Linked DNA regions of Homo sapiens: all the other regions are linked to region 1. Evidence: promoter capture Hi-C in 16 types of primary human blood cells and fetal thymus (Javierre and others, 2016). All regions are on one chromosome and are shown on one strand. Each heading gives the region's core, a stretch centred on a gene start or on the middle of the fragment in contact. The rest is flanking DNA. Distances are from core to core; before and after follow the strand shown.

Region 1 (4,890 bases), core at 1,189-3,688:
GAAGCATCTGCGGTCTGTCTTTGTAGATGGTACTGGCTTGAACCACACAGCCATGTCCTACAGTATTCTATCACTCAAGTATGAATTTCAGTCTACTTCATCACTCCTACACCAAGTCCTCACTTCCAAAGTCAACTCCCCTGTGAAATGCTGACGGTCTCCTCATACTCTGGGAGAGCGGCGGAAACAGAACCTGCAGTTGCCCCATAAAGCTGGTCAGTCGGTCATAAAGTGAAGTTAACAATTTATGACCCGCTTTAAAAAAAAAAAAAAAACATAGAATGGGCCGGCGTGGTGGCTCTGGCGTGTAATCCCAGCACTCTGGCAGGCAGAAGCGGGTGGATCACTTGAGATCAGGAGTTTGAGACCAGCATGGCCAACATGGCGAAACACCGTCTCCACTAAAAATACAAAAATTAGTCAGGCTTGGTGGCGCCCCACCCCCGGCCCCCCGTAATCCCAGCTATTTCGGAGGCTGCGGCAGGAGAATCGCTTGAACCCAGGAGGCGGAGGCTGCAGTGAGCCGAGATCGCCTCATTGCACTCCAGCCTGGGTGACAGAGCGAGAATCCCTCTGGTGGGGGGTGGGGGGAGGGAATAGAATGGAAAATATCATTGTGCCTCACCCTGTAGAAAGAATAACTATACCATGAAGCTCTTGCTGCAATTTTACATGTGTATGTGTGTGTGCGTATATATGTATATATAATATTACACACATATTATGCATATATACATTATATACATATAGGTGGGTGGGTGTGGGTCTTGATCGAAAAAAGACCTAGAAACCCATACATAGGCCAGTGGCAGTGGGATGCGACTCTGGGAGTGAATGCCACACACACCTATCCCACCTCTACCCACCCCCCCACCCCCCGCAGAGGATGCAAAAGCCAACAAAGAGCATATGAACTCAAGCACCTATCCTGCAATCCTACAAAACAGACCTGCCTGGAAAACAGTTGAAACAAACTCCTGACCACCGTCCCCGCCCTCCAACACACACACACCGTAGTACTTTTTTTTTTTTTCTATAAAGGACCAAACAGGATGCCATCCGGATAACAGCCTTATATCAAAAAGGATCCTGGAACCCAAAACGCTCAGCACGAGGGAGCAGGAGCGCATACCTACGCTGGGAACACAAGGCTTTAATCCCAGCTATTCCTTCCCGCATAAGGACTAACTGAGCCAGCAGCAACTGGGTTGGAGCAGATAGGGGAACTAGAGACCTCAGAGCCCCATTCTCTTTCTGCTTCTTAAATTTTTTTTTCTTTTATTTTCCAAATTGCACACTTCCATAAAAATTTTCCTAGGAAGCACCAAAGCTTTCAACTGCCCAGAAACACCCCGATCTGGGAGAAAAGGTGGCTTGAGCTGCACCTCAAAGATGGGCTCTATCTCAGCCGGGTTGCAAGTGCACAGGGCTCCCCGCGGGACGGAGACAGGGAGTTGGGAGGAAACGCAACGCGCCTCCCAGGCAACAGACTCCGAGCTCCGGTTCGGAAACGCTCCGAGGCAGAAGCAAGGGCTTCTAAGGGCTCCGCTTCCCAGCCTTGGGTCCCTACTACTACCTTCCCCCTAGACTCGGTGAGCCCAGGCTGATGGACCGTGCAGTCCAGTTTGAGCCAGCCCAGCAGCCCTCAATCGGGCGGGCAGGGAAGAAGGCCTCCTACTGCCGGGAAGAGGCCAGCGCGCTCCAAGTTCCCCGCAAATTCCGCCCTTCCCGCCTGGCACGGTTCCCTTGCACCGCTGTGCTCCGCTCCCAGGTTTCTGCCCGCCAAGAATGCTTGCCCCGGGGGCGCGCTCGCTGGTCAGGAACCTGTCGGCAGCCCCCGGGAACCCCTGAGGATGCGGAGGTGGGCCCGAGAGCTGCGGCTTCGATGCCGGGGTGGGAGCTAGGCAGGCCGCGCGCCGCCGCAGTCCTGTCGCAGCGCGTGCCCTGGTCCCTCCGGACCGAAAAGGCCGAAGCCGTCCCCCGCGACCGACCCCGCGCAACTGGCTCGGGTCTGCACCTAGATGGCTGTGGGCCCCACAGGGATGGCCGGGCGGGCCCGTTCGGCCGCTACCTCAGGGTCGCCAGTCCCCGCGCGCGGCCGCCTCCCGCCAGGAAGGGTGGCGGGCCCGGAAGGCCAGAGATGCCCCAGTGCTTCCCGCGCCGCTACGCACCTAGCTGCCCGCGGGTCCCACATGGCTGCGGCCGGAGGGTCCGCACCAGGACCGCCGCCGCCTGGGGAAGCGCTTCCCTGTGGGCAGGGCGCGGCGGGCAGTGCGGAAGCCCGAAAGCTACCGGAGCCCGGGGCAGGGGCGGCGCGATGCAGAGGCGGCGTTCGGGGGCCCCCAGCTGCCTGCGGCTCGGCTACCCAGCCGCGATCAGAGGGGGCGGGGGACGCAGGAACCCCGGCGTCCGGGCGGTGTGCAGCCGCAGACCTATTCCAAGTTTCCACGTAGTTGCGAGAGCCCAAAAACTGTCACGTGCACGTCGCTGCTGAGTGGGAGGAGGTGTTTGTCATCGCGTTCAAAAGGGGCGTTTCGGTGTCTCCCGTCATGCAAGCAAATGGTATGGCTCTCGGCCGCCTTTGAATAAACGAGTGCTTCGAACCCTTTACCAGGAGGGACTAGGCGCACAACCACCTCCGACACTCCTCGGGCATGCGAGAATTCGGCTTTCCTTAGTGGGGCCCATCAATGTTGTCCGGGAGGTAAAGAAAGTGATCGGCCAACGGCCTCAGCGTGGGTTTTCTCCTTCCCTCGTTCCTCCCTCCAACAAAGGACGTACGGAGAACAAGCCCCCTAGCTCCTACAGATGAGGAGCTCAGGAGTCGGGCGAATATCAAGTACTTACTGTGTGCTTGCCCCTCCACTCTGGGGAGGCTGGGGGTCCGGGAGTGAAGGGGGCAGCGAGACCGCGGGCTGCTCCACGCTCACCGTCGTGTCCATGGAGAGTAAGTGCGCACAGGCCTGAGCAGGCAACAAAATGAGGATCTTGCCTTGTCTTTCCACCTCCCCAGTGATGATCGACAGAGTAGTGGGTCGGAGAGGACCACCTCTGGCTGCTACCTCCCCAGCGGTTCTCGGCCTAGGGAGCCGGTTTGGTCTTCACAGCTTCTCTGGGCCTGGGAGTACTTTCCTACACACCAGAGAATCCACCCAATCAGAGAGCTAAGCCCGCCGCCCTCCCCTGGGGCAAGGTTCGGCCTACACTGCATCCCGGTGGTTCGCCCATCCTTCTGGGGGACCACCACACCAGGCTGCCTGGTGGCAGGGAGGACACCACCAGAGCTTTAGTGAGGGGGACCACACATTTCAGCGAAACAGAGAGGCTTTGGTAACACGTGGACACACCTAAGGCACACAGTATACTTCTCTCCACTGGTCATTCTGCGTTGTGAACTAGTCTCAGTCTAGCTAGTGGTCTCCTTGCTTCTAGAATCTCACAGAGATTTCTGTGCATTGATCTTCCCCAAACATCAGGATGAATCACGTACAGTTCAAAAGCCATCAGTGGCACTCCATTGTCTCCTAGAGATCAGGTTAGGTACCCGGGCATTTGAGATTCTTCTTCACAATCTTGCCCCACATTTCCAATCTTAGCTTCCTCATGCAAACTCTATACTGCAGTGCTTCCCAACCTTAGTTACACAATAGAATCACCTGGGGAGCTTAAAAACAAAAACAAGGCCGGGCGGGTGGCTCACACCCGTAATCCCAGCACTTTGGAAGCCTGAGGCAGGCGGATCACCTGAGGTCGGGAGTTTGAGACCAGCCAGACCAACATGGAGAAACCCCATCTCTACTAAAAATACAAAAAAAAAAAAAAAAACCCAAAAATATGCGTATGTTTGGCTTTTACTCCCAAATTGTCTAATTGACATGGGCGTCAGGAATTTTTGTTTTTGTTTTTGTTTTGAGACAGTCTCACTCTGTTGTTCAGGTGATTCTCCTGCCTCAGCCTCCTGAGTAACTGGGATTACAGGTGCCCGCCGCCTTGCCCGGCTGAATTTTTTAGATTTTTAGTAGAGGCGGGGTTTCACCATGTTAGACAGGCTGGTCTCAAACCCATGACCTCAAGTGATCCACCCACTTAGGCTTCCCCAAGTGCTGGAATTATAGGTGCAAGCCACCACACCCAGCCACATCAGGATTTTTAAAAGACTATAACATGCTGCAAAGTTTGAGAATCACTGCTAGCCACCAAATAGTTGGACTACTTGCTATTTCCCAGACATCATTGGTCCTTTCACTTTTAGGATACTTTCCATATCCTTCCTCCAATACTTTTCCCAACATCCCCCAATTCTATATTTAGGAAAGCACATGCCACCTCTTCTAGCATACCTCTTTCTGTTGGTGATTTTTGGGTTTGTTCAGTTTGGGTTTTGGTTTGGTTTGGTTTTGGTTTGGGGTTTTTTGGTTGCGGGGTATTTTTTGGTTTCGGAGATATTTTTGGTTTTGGGGTTTTTTGTTTTTCTTTTTGTTTTGGGGGGTTATTTTGTTTTGTTGTTGTTGTTGTTGTTATTTTTGCCAACTTCAAGGAGTCTACTTCCAGAAAGCCTAGCCAGGTTCTTACATCAAAGAGAGCAAGCCAAGGGATTGGTGAAGAGAGGAGGATTTAAAAAAACCAAAAAGTCCGTTTACACTTTGACCACTCTTTCACTAGTTTTCATAAGCATCTCAAAATCTTGTTGTCATACATCTTCTTTGGATATCTTCACCATAATCCTCAAAAGTCACGTCAGTATGTTATCTTTCTTTTTAAAACTGTTTCTTCTCTGTCTTCTATTTTTATATTTTTATCAGTTATACATTCACAGTTAAAAGAGCAGGCCTCAGCCAGGCGTGGTGGCTCATGCCTGTAATCCCAGTATTTTGGGAGTCCCAGGTAAGC
Region 2 (4,890 bases), core at 1,020-3,519, 3.1 Mb before region 1:
TTATAGCATATGATTTCCTTCTTGTTCAAGGCTCACTAATATTCCATTGTATGTATATACCACATTTTGTTTATATATTCATCAGATCACAGACACTTGGGTTGCTTTCATGTTTGGCTTTGTGAATAATGCTGCTATGAACATGGGCATACGTATATCTCTTTGAGACTCTGCTTTCATTTTTTTGGGGGTGTATACTCAAAAGTGGAATTGCTGGATAAAATAGCAATTCTATTTTTAATATTTTGAGGACCTGCCATATTGTTTTCCACAGCAGTTGTACTTTTTCTAATTTTTATTTTTTATTTTGAGACAGGGTCTTGCTCTGACGCTCAGGGTGAAGTGTAGTGGCATGATCATAGCTCACTGCAGCCTTGAACTCCTGGGCCCTAGTGGTCCTCCCGCCTCCGAGTAGCTAGGACTATAGACATGCACCACCATACCTGGCTGTTTAAAAACAATTTTTTTTTTTTTTGTTGAGATGGGGTCTTGCTGTGTTGCTCAGGCTGACCTCAAACTCTTGGCTTCAAGAGATCCTCCTGCCTCAGCCTACTAAAGTGCTGAGATTACAGGAGTGAGCCACCATGCCCAACCACGAGTTTGCGTTCCTGCCAACAGTACAGGAAAGTTCCAGTTTGTCTATATCTTCATCAATGCTTATTTTCTGTTTGTTTTTTAATAGGAGCTATCCTAAGTGGATGTGAGGTGTGTAGATTTTTTTTTTTTAATCAGAGTTGGGTTTTAGCCCAGCTAACCTGCTAGCCCTTTGAGAAATGTATTTGCATGAGGGAGTAAAGCATAAGGCCAGCTAGGAGGTAATTGCATTGACTTAGATTTGTGGTAATGAGGAATTGGTTTGATTGTGGTGGGACAATGTGATTTTGAGAGGTGACAGAAAAATGGAAATAATTTATTCAAATTTAAGAAACTGAGAGAAATGACATGAAAATGACTTTTACATTTGAATTTGATTGTAATAGAAATGTGGAAGTAAAGGGAAGGAGAGAAAGAATAACTTACTGTTCTTCAGCGTTTTGGGTGATGGGAATATTGTTGTGGAAATAAATGCCTGTAAGGGCAGCTTGAAATATGGGAGCATATGACAGCAAGAAAACAGGTCTGGAAACTTGTTTTTGTGAGAGTCAGCGGGATGAGAGAGGTCATAGTATTTCTCTTTGAAACATTTGTTTTCTTTAGAAAAAATAATCTGATGAATTTTTCCTTCTCAATTTTTTACAGCTCTTGCAAGCTTAGGATATGAAAAGAGCTGTGTGTTGTTCAATTGTGCAGCCTTAGCTAGCCAAATTGCAGCAGAACAGAACCTGGATAATGATGAAGGATTGAAAATCGCTGCTAAACATTACCAGGTATGCTGAAAAGTAGTTACTACAATAATGGTCAACACTAAATTGGATTAAGTGGAAAATAATTTGCATTTAGGTTTATAGATACTTCTTACGCAACAGATGTTTTCTAAAACGAATGCACTTTTAAAATGAATTTATTCTTACTGTTAAAGCCCTTAGATAAACTGTCTATAGACCAGGTCTGTTATTCCTCATTGTTTTATACCGAGCACCTAGCACAGTGCCTGGCACATAATAGAGGCTCAATAATTGTTGGTTGAAGAAATTATGAAATGTCTGAGATTTCATCTCAGGCATTTAGGGTAAATCCATTTTAAATAAATTACCTAATTAAAAAAAATTTGTACATTATTTTCATATGTTTTCTTAGAGTGAGACACACTTGAAATTTCACTGTTGTTACAAAAATAAAGACAAGAAATTGGCAAGAAAATAAAATTTTAACTTTGAGACTTGTGGAGAGGTCATATTTAAATATGGTCAGACACATAATGTTCATAAGTTGCCTAATCTGTTTTACGTACTGATCATTTACTAATATGGCATGTTATTTTGTGGCAGTTTATTTTATTTTATTTATTTATTTATTTTGAGACGGAGTCTTGTTCTGTTGCCCAGGCTGGAGTGCAGTGGCACAATCTCGGCTCACTGCAAGCTCCGCCTCCTGGGTTCACGCCATTCTCCTGTCTCAGCCTCCTGAATAGCTAGGACTATAGGCATCCGCCACCTCGCCTGGCTAATTTTTTTTGTATTTTTAGTAGAGATGGGGTTTCACTGTGTTAGCCAGGATGGTCTTGATCTCCTGACATCATGATCCACCCACCTCGGCCTCCCAAAGTGCTGGGATTACAGATGTGAGCCACCATGCCCGGCCAGCAGTTGTTTATTATTTATTCAGCTTTTTTTTGTTTTGGTTAAAAGAACAGTAAATGATTACTGTTAAATAATATATATATAATCATGTTGTCATTTTATATTACTTTCTAATTTACAAAGTGTTTTCATGTACATTATTTGACTCTCAGATAAACCTTGTGATGTATGTCATATAATGTCATTCCGATTTTACATACGAGGAGGCTAAAGGTCCGAAGTCTTAATAAAGCAGTCTATTTGGGTTTCAATAGTTCTGATTCCAAATTTCATGTAATTCCAAATGTCCTTCCACTGTTTCACTCCCAAACCTCCCATGAAATTTGCTTGTCTCAGAGGTAGTCTGCTTTTTCCCGTTGTTTATGTTTAGGGAAGAGGTGAGTGATGCTGTTCTGAGAAAGTAAAAGGAAAATATACCGTAAGCAAACAACACGCTCCAAATTGTGGCTTGCCTTACAGTTTTGAATGGGCATAGATGACAAACATAATGCATACGCTATTTCTTTTTGAGGCTATACATGGCAAATATTTTAAAATGTGAAAACGAGCTGGGCGTGGTGGCTCACGCCTGTAATCCCAGCACTGTGGGAGGCTGTGGTGTGCGGATCACGAGGTCAGGAGTTCCAGACCAGCCTGGCCAACATGGTGAAACCCTGTCTGTACTAAAAATAGAAAAATTAGCTGGGTGTGATGGTGGGCGCCTGTAGTCTGAGCTACTCGGGAGGCTGAGGCAGGAGAATCTCTTGAACCGAGGAGGCGGAGGTTGCAGAGAGCTGAGGTTGTGCCATTGCACTCTAGTCTGGGCGACAAGAGCAAGACTCTGTCTCAAAATAAATAAAATAAAATACAGTAGTGAAAACGAAGTAAAATTTTATTTAGCTTTTGGTTAACTGTAACTCAGTTAGTTAGTATATGAGATTTTAGAAAGGTCATTCTGAATTATGAAAGAAACATTCCATTCTGTGAGGGTTCACAGCAGGGCACCTGGTATCATGGAAAGATAACTGGTGGTATTAGACCTAGGTCCTTGTCTAGGCTGCTTGCCACCCAGAAGCTTTGTGCCGTTGGGCAAGTTCTTTAACCTCTCTAGTACCTCCAGTTCCTTATCTGTAAATGAGAGACTCAGACACTTTGCTGTTGTAGACTTTGATTCACTAGTTTACTGAACAAGTTCAGTTGTTCATTCCTAGCAGATACTCTAGTGTTATAATACTTACTGACTGCAGAAACATGCTGTTCATTTTAATACATTTGACTTTGAGTTTTCTCTGTGTTGTCTATTTATCTAACTCATGACACCTTTTTTTTTTTTTCTTTTTTGAGATGGAGTCTCGCTCTGTTGCCCAGGCAGGAGTACAATGGCGTGATCTTGGCTCACTGCAACCTCCGCCTCCTGGGTTCAAGTGATTCTCCTGCCTCAGCCTCCCGAGCAGCTGGGATTACAAGTGTGTGCCATCATGCCCAGCTAATTTTTGTATTTTTAGTAGAGACGGGGTTTCATCATGTTGGCCAGGCTGGTCTTGAACTCCTGACCTCAGGTAATCTGCCCACCTCAGCCTCCCAAAGTGCCGGGATTAACAGGCGTGAGCCACCGCACCCGGCCAACTCATGACACCTTTTAATCCCAGACTGATTTATTTCTTTTTCTTAGTATAATTTGTTTCATGAAAGCAAAGTTATTTTAGTATTAACAAAATATAATTGAGATGAAAAATCTGATGGGGAACATTTCACTAGTGAGCTCTGAAGGCCAGACAGAAATCACTGGCAATGGGTAGTAATGCTGTTCCTCAGAGGACTAGGTGTATGTACTACCTGGGGTGTCCCCTAACTACGGCATGTTTAATTATTTGAAAGATGAATTTGTTTGGGACCAAAGCAAGAGCATTGCAGTACTAAAAATATTTTAATGTTTATCCCCGCCTCTATTCTCATGTTAATTTTGAGGAAGTATATCTAAAAATAGTTTAATCAGATTGTTCCATTAGTTTACTTTGTTTTTCCTTGTAATTTACTTTTAATCTTTGTTAAATCTCTTGTTACGCTATAGAGTTTTAGAAAGATAACCTTATTGTCTGTAGGTCAGATGTTTTAGATTGGTTTTGCATAATATAAAAATTTAAATATATTAACTGTTCACTGAGTTAACATTTGAAATGACTTTTATATGTAACAGTAGGAAATTAAGTCTTGCTGAGTTCCTATAAAGAAATTCTTTTTCCCCCCTTTAGTTTGCTAGTGGTGCCTTTTTACATATTAAAGAGACGGTTTTATCTGCCTTAAGTCGAGAGCCGACCGTGGACATATCTCCAGATACTGTTGGGACCCTCAGTCTTATTATGCTGGCACAGGCTCAAGAAGTATTTTTTTTAAAAGCCACAAGAGGTAACTCCAATTTATCTTTTTGTTGCATGTGAAAAAAAGTGATAAGGCTTTTAAATTAAGAAAGTGATTAGAATATAATATGTTCAATGTCGAGCTGTCCTTCTTGAACTTGATACATGAATTATGGAAAATTTTCAGCTATCCTTTTCTGAATTTGTGGCACAAATTTACATTTAAGAATGTAGGCTGTGTTTGAAGTCATGAAATAGATCTTTAGTAATTGTCTTTAAACACTCCATTCTGGAATAGTATTTATGTATGTTTT
Region 3 (4,890 bases), core at 1,426-3,925, 3.1 Mb before region 1:
AACAGTGTCTTTTATCACTATTGGGGTTTTCAGAAAGGAAATACAATGTAGATGGAAGTGAGGCGACTGCACAAGGGAAGGCACTTGGAAACAGACCACAGTGCTGTGGAAGAGATATCTGTTGCCTTTTTTTCCTTGTAAGTAATGTGTTACAAAACTTTTAACCATTAGAGTTGAAATTTTTCTCCAGCAAAGATCTGTCTTTACTCAAATTACCTGGTAATGTATGAACTTTTTTTAAAAAACAGATTTTTTTAAGAGCAGTTTTAGGTTTAAAGAAAATAGAGGAGAAAGCATAGAGTTCCCTTATACCCCGCTTACCCCACCCCCTCACAGTTTCTCCTCTTGTTAACATCTTGTATTAGTGTAGCTCACTGATTACAATTGATGACCCAGTATTCACACATTATTATTAACTAAAGTACATAATTTATGTTAAGGCTCATCTTCTGTGTTGTACATCTGTGGATTTTGCCAAATGCATAATGTCATGTATTCACCATCACAGTCTCATATAGAATAGTTTCACTGTCCTAAAAATCCCTTGTGCTCTACCTACTCACCCTTCTCCCCAACCTGGACAACCACTGATCGTTTTATTGTCTGTATAGTTTTGTCTTTTCCAGAATGTCATACAGTTAGAATCATACAATATGTAGCCTTTTCAGACCGCCTTCTTGGCATGTAAGTTTCCTTTGTGCCTTTTTGTGGTTTCATAGCTCATTTCTTTTTAGTGCTGAGTAATATTCCATTGTATGAGAATACTGGATATATCAGTTTGGTTATCCATCTACCTTTTGAAAGACACACTTGTTGCTTCCAGTTTTTGGCATTTATGAATAAACATTAATGTGCAGGTTTGTATGGACATAAAATTTCAACTTATTTGGGTGAGAACCTAGAAGCACAATTCATGGATCATAAAAGACTATGTTTTGCTTTGTAAGAAGCTGCCAAACTGTCTTCTAAGGTTGCTGTACCATTTTGCATTCCCACCAGCACTGAATGAGAGTTCCTGTTTCTCCACATCCTCGCTAGCATTTGGTATTGTCAGATTTTTGGATTTTAGCCATTCTAATAGGTGTGTAGTGGTATATTACTATTTTTAATGTGCAATTTCTTAATGATTTATGACGTTGAGCATCTTTTCACATGCTTATATGCCATCTTGTATCTTTGGTGAGACATCTGTTCAGGACCTCTATCCATTTTTGAATTGGATTTTCTCATTGAATTTTAATGCTTTTTTGGGGTATATTTTAATGTAGTTCCTTTATCAGATGTGTTTTGCAAATATTTTCTTCCAGTTTGTAGAGCAAAAGCTTTTTCACAGAGCAAAAGTTTTTAATTTAATGAAGTCAAACTTACCAGTTCTTTCATGGCTCGTGCTTGTGGTGTTATATCAAATCTATGTCAAACCCTAGATTACCTAGCTTTTATCCTATGTTATATTCTGGAAATTTTGTAGTTTTGTGTTTTATATTTATGTCTATGATCATCTCCTTTACTTTTGAAGGATAATTTTGCCAAATACAGAATTCTAGGTTGGTGATTATTTTCTTTCAACACCGTAAATATTTCCCTTCTCTTCTTACTTGCATTGTTTGTGAAGTCTAATGGAATTCTTATCCTTATTTTTCTATAGGTAAGGCAGGTTTTTCTCTGCTTTCTTTCAAGATTTTCTCTGTCTTTGGTTTTCTGCAAGTTTGAATATGATTTGTTAAAGTGTAGACTTTTCTGTATTTGTCCTGATTCGTGTTCTCCAAGCTTCCTGGATCTGTGGTTTTGTATCTGTCATTAATCCTGGAAAATTCTAATCCATTATTACTTCAAATATTTATTCTTCTCCTTTCTTTCTTCAGCTTCTGGTGTTCTCTTTGTGAATATATTACATGTTATGTTATTGTCCCACAGTTGTTGGCTATTCTGTTCCAATTTTTCATTCTTAGCATTTCAGTTTGGGAAGTTTCTCTTGACATATCTTCAAGCTCACTGAATATTTTCTCATCTGTATCTAGTTTACCAGTGAGCCCATCAAAGGCATTCTTCATTTATATTATAGGGCTTTTGATTTCTAGTATTTTCTTTCATTTCTTTCTTAGAGTTTCGAGCTGTCTGCTTTCATTACTCATCTGTTCTTGCATGCTGTCCACTTTTACATTGGAACCCTTAGCATATTAAGTATAGTTATTTAAAATTCCCAGTCAAATAGTATCAAAATCTTTTCCATATGTAAGTCTTGTTCTGTTGTTTGCTTATCTTTTCAGAGTGTTTTTCTTGCCTTTTAATGTGCCTTGTAATTTACTGTTGAAAGGCAGATTTGATATATTGGCTAAAAGGACCTGAGGTAAACAGATCTTTAGGATAAGGGTTTATGTTTATCTGGCTAAGAACTTGGCTGTGTTTATCACTTACCATAGCTGTAGATGTCTGAGATTTCAGTTTTCTTCAGTGTCCTCATTTTTGTTTTCCCTGTTGTTTTTGGTTTTCCCTAGACATTCTTTCTTAAACAGAGCCTCAGGCTTGCAGTTGTTTCAGCTGTAATCTCTGTTGTCACACAGGAGCCTTATTGATGTGGTGTTGAGGTGTGAGGGTAGAAGTGTTCTATAATCCTGTGATTTGGTCTCAATCTTTCAAGGAGCCTGTGGCCATGGCCTGTGACCCTCACAAGTGCTTCCCAGCTTTTGTTTTACTCCTTAGGTGAGACAGGAAGTTAGTTAAAGGGGGCTGGAGTTGGGTACAGTTGTCTCTGTCAGTATCAGTAGGTGCTTGATTCCAGGACTTCTCACAAATACCAAAGTGCATGGATACTCAAGTCCTTGATATAAAATGGCATAGTATTTGCATATAACCTATGCACATCTTCCCATATACTTTAAATTATCTCTAGATTACTTATAATACCAAATACAATGTAAATGCTATGTAGTTGTTTTACTATATTGTTTAGGGAATAATGACAAGTAAAGAAAGTCTGTACGTGTTCAGTAGTGATACAATTAAAAAAATTTTTTTTTGGTCTAACGTTAGTTGAATTTAGGGATGCAAAACCTATGGACACAGAGTGGGGACTGTATTTCCTTTCCCCTACATTGTAACCAGTATAGTTTCCCTTGAGGGCAAGTGGAGAACAGAATGCTCAGATGGTTACTTTCCCCTTCTGCTGGAAGCATCAGGGGATTTCCCCCAAATTTTCACCACGAGACCCTGGTAGGGCTTTTGCAGGTGAAACTCATGAAAACATGGGGGCCCCTCTGGGCCTGGGCCCCAGGAGTTTTTAACACACAGTCTAGGCCCCACTCAGCTTCCAGCAGTTTGTCCATTACAGTTTTTTTCCTCCTAGATCCTGGCTCCAGTGGCTTCGGCTCCTGCTTCTGTATTTGTCTGTTTCTCCAGTCTTGGGGCTATTTGTTTGCCCTGTGATCTCAATTCTCTGGTGGATTAAAAAAAGAATTGTTGATTTTCAGTTTGTTCAGCTCTTTTTTGTTGTGAGGATGAAGGGGTGGTTGCTGAGCTCTTCACATGTCAGAGCAGAACCCCAGAAGTCCAGATGAGCTTTGGATACAAATACTCAAGCCTTTAGTAAGCTTGGAGGATTTTTCACTTCTCTTCCATGTGCTCTCGACTGCCTTCTGGAATCTCTATTGTTACAGATACTAGATCTCTCCACATGTTTTCTATCTGTGTAGCACATAATAAATGTTTAGTAATGTTAGCTACTATTATTTTTTACCCATTATTTTAATCTTCCACCTTTTTCTTGATTGGAGAAGTTTCTTGAAATAATCTAATTCACAATTCCTTTTTCTGCAGCACTTGGTCTGCCACACACTGTCACCAATGCATTTTAAAAAGTTAGTCCAAGCTTATGGGGTACATGTGACATTTTGATACATGTATATAATGCATTGTGATCAAGCCAGGATATTCAGGGTGCCCATCACCCAAGAACAATACATTTCTGTTAAGCATAACCACCTTACTCTGCGATCAAACACTGAATTTATTCCATCTTATTCTACGTTTGTGCCCTTTACCCCACTTCCCTTCTTCTTCTTGCCCCCACTCACCCTTCCCAGTCTCTGTTGTCTAGTTTTTCACTCTTTACCTCCAAGTGATCAAATGTTTTAGTTCCCACATTTGAGTGAGAACATGTGGTATCTGTCTTTCTGTGCCTGGCTTATTTCACTTAAGATAATGACCTCCAGTTCCATCCGTGTTGCTACCAATGACATAATTGTATTTGCTTTTTATGGCTGAATGACATTCTACTGTGTATATATATACTACAGTTTCTTTACTTTATCCATTCATCTATTGATAGGTGCTTAGGTTGATTCCATACCTTAGCTATTGTGGATAGTGCTGCATAAACCTGTGGGTGCAGGTGCCCCTTTGGTATTTTGATATTTTTTCCTTTGAGTAGATACTCAATAGAGGAATTACTGGATCAAGTGGCAATTCTAGTTTTAGTTTAAAAAAAAAAACTAAAAACCATTTTTTTGAATTAACTCTTTAATACTAAAGATTTTTAAATTGCTTATAGATATAATTTTTTTGCAATTTACTTTTTTTCTTTTACATTCTCAACATAGCAAAATACTGTAAGAATGATTAGGGACTGACATTTTTAATAAAATCATCACTAAGTTTTACTTCTCAATATACTCTTTTTTTATAGAGAATGTTGTTATATGTCCAACCACTGATTTTTGGTTCTTGTGAAGTGCTTTCTTTTGTGGATAGTTGTTCAATTTGGTGTTCCTGCAGAGGGGATGATGGCTGGAGGCTTCTATTTGGCCACCTTGCTCCATCTCTCCTATTTTAGGCTTTTTGATAAATCTCTGTGCAGTTTTCCATAGTGGCTGTACTAGTCTACATTCCCAGCAA

Evidence for each region. The method cuts DNA at HindIII sites, captures the fragments that hold promoters and counts their contacts. A CHiCAGO score of 5 or more calls a contact.
Region 2: a contact is called between a fragment that was not itself captured here and the fragment with the promoter of TRANK1 in region 1, in 1 of 17 cell types (M0 macrophages). The highest score is 6.9, in M0 macrophages.
Region 3: a fragment that was not itself captured here is called in contact with the fragment with the promoter of TRANK1 in region 1 in 1 of 17 cell types (M2 macrophages); the score reaches 6.0 in M2 macrophages.

Annotation. Positions count from the first base shown.
Region 1 is chr3:36,942,616-36,947,505 of GRCh38, forward strand. TRANK1 (tetratricopeptide repeat and ankyrin repeat containing 1) reads right to left here and starts at 2,439. Exons shown (of 24, transcript NM_001329998.2): 1 at 2,172-2,439. The coding sequence starts at 2,194. RefSeq lists a silencer at 2,087-2,306 and an enhancer at 2,537-2,606. The HindIII fragment of the contact is 7,723 bases long and covers 1,329-4,890 here.
Region 2 is chr3:33,820,716-33,825,605 of GRCh38, forward strand. PDCD6IP (programmed cell death 6 interacting protein) reads left to right here. Exons shown (of 18, transcript NM_013374.6): 4 at 1,240-1,367; 5 at 4,472-4,625. Among named protein-coding and RNA genes, the nearest start is that of PDCD6IP, 25 kb to the left of the region's middle. The HindIII fragment of the contact is 2,045 bases long and covers 1,248-3,292 here.
Region 3 is chr3:33,873,214-33,878,103 of GRCh38, forward strand. No RefSeq gene overlaps it. Among named protein-coding and RNA genes, the nearest start is that of PDCD6IP, 77 kb to the left of the region's middle. The HindIII fragment of the contact is 1,820 bases long and covers 1,766-3,585 here.